2 separate regions of the Homo sapiens genome follow, and region 1 is linked to region 2. The links are contacts of gene promoters, found by promoter capture Hi-C in blood cells and fetal thymus (Javierre and others, 2016). All regions are on one chromosome and are shown on one strand. Each heading gives the region's core, a stretch centred on a gene start or on the middle of the fragment in contact. The rest is flanking DNA. Distances are from core to core; before and after follow the strand shown.

Region 1 (3,437 bases), core at 914-3,413, 800 kb before region 2:
ATCAGAGATGACTTCTTGGGGGAACTGATGTTTGGGCTGGAGCTGGGAGAATGAATAAGTAGGATTTGGGTGGGCAGAGATGAGGGTGGGGGAGGCAGAAGATTGTGCAGGAACGGATATCACGAACAAACGCCCAGGGAGAAAAGGTATGAGAGGAGTCCAGGGTAAGGCAAGCAGTTTGGGCGGAGTTTGAAAGCCCGTGCTAGGAGCTAAAGCTCTAGAGATATTCATGAAGTCAAACCCTCTGAGCTGGAAGCAATGAGAGGTGCAGACTCTATTTTACAGAAGAAGAAGTCAAGCAGTAGGGAGGCTGAGCCACCTGCCGAGGTCCCAGGAAAACAAGGCTCAGCTCTCCAGACTCCAGTCCAGGGCTTGCTCCATAGCAGGTCGGAAGAGGCTGAGGATCTGGTTGTGTGGATGATGAGAAAGCCCTGAAGATGTTGCAGCAGAGGGATGGTGCAGTTTGGATCCTGTATTCTAAGCCTCGGACCCACAGGGCAGTCCTAGAAGTGAAGGTGGTGGTTGGGCACGGTCACATAGAAACAAGGGCTGCTACGACTCAGGAGCCCTGCTGGTTCTGGCCATGGGCCTGTGCTGAGTAGACAGGATAGCCCCTCCCCACAAACTCCTGCTAGAAGCCAGGAATTGTATCCCTACAAAGCTACTGGGTTTGCTTCTTCCATAGTGGGTGAATTTCCAGATTTTTTTTTTTTTCTGAGAAAGAGTCTTGCTCTGCTGCCCAGGCTGAAGTGCAGTGATGCGAACTCAGCTCACTGCAACCTCTGCCTCCCAGGTTCAAGCAATTCTCTGCCTCAGCCTTCTGAGTAGCTGGGACTATAGGCATGCACCACCATGCCCAGCTAATTTTTGTATTTTTTGTAGAGAGGGGTTTCTCCATGTTGGCTAGGCTGGTCTTGAACTCCTGGCCTCAAGTGATCCACCTGCTTTGGCCTACTGGGATTACAGGCATGAGCCACTGCACCTAGCCCAGACTTTTTTTTTTATTTTTTTTAAATAAAACAAAAATGAATGGCCAGGTGTGGTGGCTTACAGTGTAATCCCAGGACGTTGGGAAGCCGAAGTGGTAGGCTCACTTAAGCCCAGGAGTTTGAGATGGGCCTAGGCAACATAGTAAGACCTTGTCTCTACAAAAAATAAAAAAAGTAGCCAGGTATGGGTGGTGCACACCTGTAGCCTCAGCTACTCAGGAGGCAGAGGCAGGAGGATCGATTGAGCCCACGAGGTTGAGGCTGCAGTGAGCCGTGATTGCACCACTGCACTCCAGCCTGGGTGACAGAGCAAGACTCTGTCTTAGGGAAAAAAAAAAAAAAGAGCTCGTTTTGAGTGTTTGTATGTATGAGTAGGCATATTGGAGGCAGTGTATACCAGGATGGTTAGGAACACATGCTCTGGAGTCAGATGATGTAGGCTGGAACCCACCTCTATACTATAGTTTTCTTGGTGTAAAAAGAGAAATGTAATAGGGCTCTCGTGCAGATTAATTGAAATATTGCATTGAAGACAGGAGGGTGCCTGGCATTGGAAAACACCAATGTTCAATGTTAGTGGTCATTTTCCATGTGGTTATTTCCAAGATGGCTTGGGAAGATATTTTGTCCTGAGGAACAGCCCAGGGCAGTCACACAGCACTGGCTCTTAGGCTGCAGAGCCTGCCCTGGGTTGAGAGCAACAGAGAAATCAGAGGGCCCAAAGGCTAATGCCAGGTATCAAGCCTTTGATGTGTGGATTTTGATGGCCATGGTTAAGTCTGAAAAGCTTGCTGCTTGGGACTGAAGTCAGACCTTTCTGTTCTTTCATCCATTCCACAAATTATTATTAATGGCTTGCCATGGCCAGGCATTGTCCAGATGATGTTGTCTGCACGTGGAAGTAACTGAACCTCTGCACAGGCTGGACTTGGCATTGTGTAACTCCTGCCCAAGGCATGGCCCTTCACGATCTATGGAAGCGTTGTGGTGCATGCCTGTGGCAGGATCTGTTTTTGACAAATGAATGAATTTTGCTTTGTTTCTATTCCTCAATCCCTGTGCTCCAAGCCAATAGCCTGGCCCTTCCACTTCCTCTGCCTCAGGGATTCTTACAGGAGGCAAAGCAGGAGTTGATTGACGAGCTAAGTCTCTTCTGTAAAAGTCAAAGCCCCTTGCATAAATGATGCTGAGTGTCTTAGAGAGTGGGAAGCACCTTGGAAAACATTGAGAGAGAGAAGATAGAGCCTCATGGTCCCTCCAAGGGAGTCACAGGGATCTATGTCCAGGAGAGATGACATGACCTCAGAGGGCAGGCTGAGTCTTGTGGAAGTAGCAGAGCCAACTGGCTGGCTAGCACTATAAGGCTGGGATCCCCAGGCATCTCTGCAGGAACAAGTAGGGCAGATGACTGATGGGTGACCAGAAGCCCTCTCTGGGGCTTGATGTGGCAGAAGACTCCAGGATCCTAGAGCAACCCCAAGGCAGAGAAGACCCCTATTAATGACAGATTAAATTTCCCCTGGTTTAGAGGGCTGGGTCCTCAGAGCTGGACTTAAGCTTAACAAACATAAAAGTATTCCTTGGACACTTGAGTTTGAAGATTACAACTTAATACCTGCTGCACTGACTCTCCATTTTAGCCACACAATCCCAAGAGGGAAGTAGGGCAGGCACTGATAACCACCTGACAGGTGAATAAGCGTGCTCAGAGGAGAAGTGCAAGCCAGAGATGTGTTCCAGAGACCCAGGAGGAATGTGGATGGCATTGTTGCGAAGGGCTGGCAGGTCAGGACGCAGGCCAGGGCTGTAGCCGAAACACCTGTGAGGAGCCAGCCTTTCTGAGGACAGCTGGGGCGGAGGCTGGGGAGTGCAGTCGCTCATTCAACACAGATATGATGCATGGGGACAGTGCTGGGTCCTCAACACGGAGCACTGTAGCTCTCCTCTGCCGCCCTCCATGAGCACCCTCCCCCACATCGATGGGGTTGCTCTGGGGGCTCTGGAAGCCCAGAGGCGGGGAAAGAGTGAAATTCTCCTAGGCTGGAGGTTGGTGGGAGCTGGAGATGGGAGGTTGGAGGGGTGGTTTCCAGAGGCTGTGATATCTGAGCTGCAGCTTGGAGGACAGGTAAGTGTTAGCCAGGTGGATGAAGGATGATGGGGGCTCCAGGCAGGAGGAAAAGTGTAGAGGTAAGACAGGGTAGGTTGAGGGATCCCAAGAGACTGGGTGAGGGCAGCCTTGTAGGTGGAAGACAGCAGGACGGGACAAGGCATGGCAGGCTGTGAATCCGGATCTGTGCAGGTGTGCAGGTGTGTGTGTGTCAGGGAGAAGGACGATGTGGCTGACCATTGTCTTGGGAAAAATTTCCAATTCATGACCATGGCCCACAAGACCCTTCCTGATCTGGCCCTGTAATCTGCCCTCTGACCCCATCGCATGACCCTGTCCCC
Region 2 (3,407 bases), core at 198-2,697:
TCCCAGAAAAAGGCCCCATCCATGGGCTGGATGCTCACTGCCTGGACTCCAGATAGCAGGTGCCTGTGATCCAAACCGAGGATGTTAGAGGGGCATACATACTGAAGCAGTGTCTGGTATCCATTCATTCATCAGATGTTTATTATGTGCCGGATATTGGAGTAAGTACTGAGAAGGCAGTGGGGAACAAAACGGAGCCCTGCCTTCATGGCTCTTACCATTTAGGCAACAACAGCAATAATAAGCAAGCAATGATTTAATTTTGAAAGGAAACCAGACCTGGTGGGTGACTTGGGACCCAGGAACCCAGGCATGATGCAGAGATGGGACGGAAAGGTTCTCAGGAGCCCCAGCCTGGGAGGGTGTTAGTTCCTCCGTGAGAGCTCTGCTACACCCAGCCTGGGGTGTGGGGAGGCCTCTGTGGGCACCTGAATCTTCACTCTAGATGCTAAGGTTATTCCGGGGTTGATTTGTTGTCTCTTGTTTCCACAAACAGCACAGTAGAGCCTCCTGCCTCCCTCCCTCCCCCACCTCTTCCAGACTGAGGCTATTTATTCCTAGTGACAAGCCTGAGGATCCCAGGGGGGGTGGCCTTAAGGACCTGGAGGGGCCTCGTGTCCCTAGCAGGCGCCAGTCCTCCCTCACGGACACAGGGAGGAAGCCAGAGGCTCAGACACCGCAGAGGTCCCCTCCCCTCTCCTCCACCACCCCTGAGGTGCCCCATCCTCTCACACTCCTCACACCCCACCCTAGAAGCCCAAAGATCATGGGGCCGAGGATTAGGGTCTCCCCCGGGCCTCAAAGGTCAAAACTATTCCTGGGCACTGCGGAAACCCAGGCAAGGCAGGACTTCTCAGTGTCAGGAGGCTGCTGGAAGTGGGGAGGTGGTTACCCCTGTTTTTGCTACTCAAAGTTGTGGAATAAAACCCTTTGGAGGTCAAGGCCCTATGGTGGGGAGGGGTCCTCTCTTCGTCCCATGTTTTCAGAGAACACCTTGGTGCCCGCTGACAGGCTCATGACAGCAGAGTCAAAACGTCCTCCTCCAGGCTGGATTAAGGCCGGGCTGAGTGTCACCCCTGGGGTAAGGTGAAGGGGTGGGGGGATCCGAGGAGGCCAGAGGACTCCCCCAGTGGACCATGGTCTGCGGGGTCTCGTGTCGCCGGCCTGAGATGGAATACAGCAGTCTCCCTCTGGCAGCTGGGGATGGGGGGTGGGAGGGGAGGAGAACAGAGGCTGCGGGGAGGGGACAGGGGCGGGGTCCCGGCCGCTTGAAGGTTGGGAGAGCCAGGTTAGGCCGGGCGGGAGGAGGGGGCCGGGCCGACTGGCGGCCGAAAGGGAGGTGGGGGCGGGGTCTGGCCCCCGCGGCGGGCTGGGGGGCCGGGGGCGGGGTCCGGGCGGGGCGGGCCCGCGCTCACTTCCTCGGGGAGGGGTTGGGGCCGCGCTCCCACTCGCCCACACGGTCCGTCTGCAGTCGGCAGCCTCGCCGGCAGCTCGCTCGGCCCCCGCTTGGCCCGGCCCGCAGGTAGGAGCCGCCGAGGGACGCGGCGCCCGGTTCCCGGCCCCGCCTGCGCCGCGCGCTCCCCGCTCCCGCCGCCCGCTTCGAGGTGAGCGCCCCGCCGACCCCGGCTCCCAGCCCTGGCGGTCCGCCCCCGCGCCCAGGCCGGGGAGCGAAGGGACCCGCGGAGGGCTGAGGCCAGCCGCGGCCCCGGTCCCCTGTACCCGCCGGGCTCTGGCCACGGGTGCCCGGGGCACGCCGAGCCCGGGACAGCGCCCGCCGGGACTGGACCCCTCCGGGCTATCGGGCGGGGCGGGGGCGGGGGCGGCAGCGAGAGTTGGGCGGGGGAGGGGGCTAAGTTTGAAATAGAAAAGCCGGAGAGAGACAGACAGACCGACCGACCAGAAGCGCTGGAGAAACTGAGGTTCTCGGAAAGCCCGGTGGAGCGAGAGACCGAGACAGGCAGGGACTCGAGGCACAGGAGGCTACCGAGACCACTGAAACAAGGACACACCGGGCGTACAGAGTTACTGGTGGACAGACCCGAGGCATGGGGGCCGTCCTAGGCTTTGTGGAGCATTTTCAGAAAAAGCATACGTGGGACCCCAGCGAACACATTCCCTAGGGCCCTTCCCCGGGCCTTGGAGGTGCCCTGAGGCTTGGGCGTCATTGGCCTCATGCTGAATCTGCTCTCTGAGGCCTGCAGAGACGCTCAGAGACTAGAGACAGAGACATTCAGGCGTGCAGAGGTGGCGAAAGAGACTTGGATGCAGAGACAGAGAAAGGGAGGTGGTGGGGATTGAGACATTCAGCCATGTAGACAAGAAGAGACCAAGACTTGAGATCCACAGAGGCATGGGCCCCCTGGGGGACAGCCAGTCAAGATACAGAGCCGTCCAAAACCTAAAGACAGAGACTGAAGTGTGCCCAGACACAGAGATGCTGAGTGAAGCAGAGACAGACACCAGAAACTGAGACTAAGTGGGGGCAGAGAGACCTAGGTGGTCTGACAGCTTCCAGGACAGCCCCTGACTTACCCGGGCCTGAACCATTGGGAGGTGAGGCTGTGGGGAAACAGAAACTCTGAGCCTACCGATCCCCCATGAGGCAGAGGCCCTGAGACAGTAAGTTCGAGATCAAGAAGAGCCCCACGCACACACACAGCCACCAAGACAGCCCCAACTTATTTTTGAACTCAAATCTTGGATGGGCTGCCTCAGCCCTGGGGGACCCAGGGTGAATGAACTGTTCCTCTCATGTCCCCAGAGCAGCTGCGGGATCTTGCTCCCCAACCCCCTTCCCTAAACTTCTCTGACTTCCAGGCCACATGGGGGAGAGCAGAGCTTGGGGTTGGTGCCCGGTAGCAGAGGGTGAGGGTTGAGGGAGTTGGATTTCTCCCCTTAAGTCTCCTGTCAGCTTCTAGAAGGTGGGGGAGGGGTCTGTTCTGATCCTGACTCACAGCTGTGGGACCTGGCCAGGGTCCTCCTGGACAGTGGGCATGTTGGGGGTGGGGGCAGAAGGATTGAATGGTTGGCATGGGGCATTGGAAAGGCTTCTGGGTGTCTTCCAATCACAGGGCTAGCAGCTGAGGAGAAGAGCCAGGCTCTGGTGCATCTCCTGTTCCCCTGCCCTTAAAAACTGACCACCCCCATGTCACCATCCGCTTCATCACCAGGGCAGCATTTTTAGGGAGAGGGAAGAGCTCTGGGCTGGGAGGCAGGGGACCTGGGTCCTGATCGGGACCTTGGGCATGAACCTGCTCTATTCCTGGCCTCCTTGTGCTCAGCTGTAAAATGGGGATGATACTCTGTCCTGCCTGCCTTTTGTGAGATCTGATGAGATTGTGGTGGGCATGGACTTTGTGAGTGGCAAAGCAGCATGCAGGTGTCTACATCCGTGGACCTGCATGAGA

The links. Contacts are between HindIII fragments. The CHiCAGO score rates a contact against its expected background, and 5 or more counts as called.
Region 1: a fragment that was not itself captured here is called in contact with the fragment with the promoter of FHL3 in region 2 in 1 of 17 cell types (endothelial precursors); the score reaches 5.7 in endothelial precursors.

What each region holds. Positions count from the first base shown.
Region 1 is chr1:38,807,163-38,810,599 of GRCh38, reverse strand. No RefSeq gene overlaps it. Among named protein-coding and RNA genes, the nearest start is that of RRAGC, 51 kb to the left of the region's middle. The HindIII fragment of the contact is 770 bases long and covers 1,779-2,548 here.
Region 2 is chr1:38,003,554-38,006,960 of GRCh38, reverse strand. FHL3 (four and a half LIM domains 3) reads left to right here and starts at 1,447. Exons shown (of 6, transcript NM_004468.5): 1 at 1,447-1,604. RefSeq lists silencers at 1,327-1,386, 1,417-1,776 and an enhancer at 2,629-3,407. The HindIII fragment of the contact is 9,980 bases long and covers 1-3,407 here.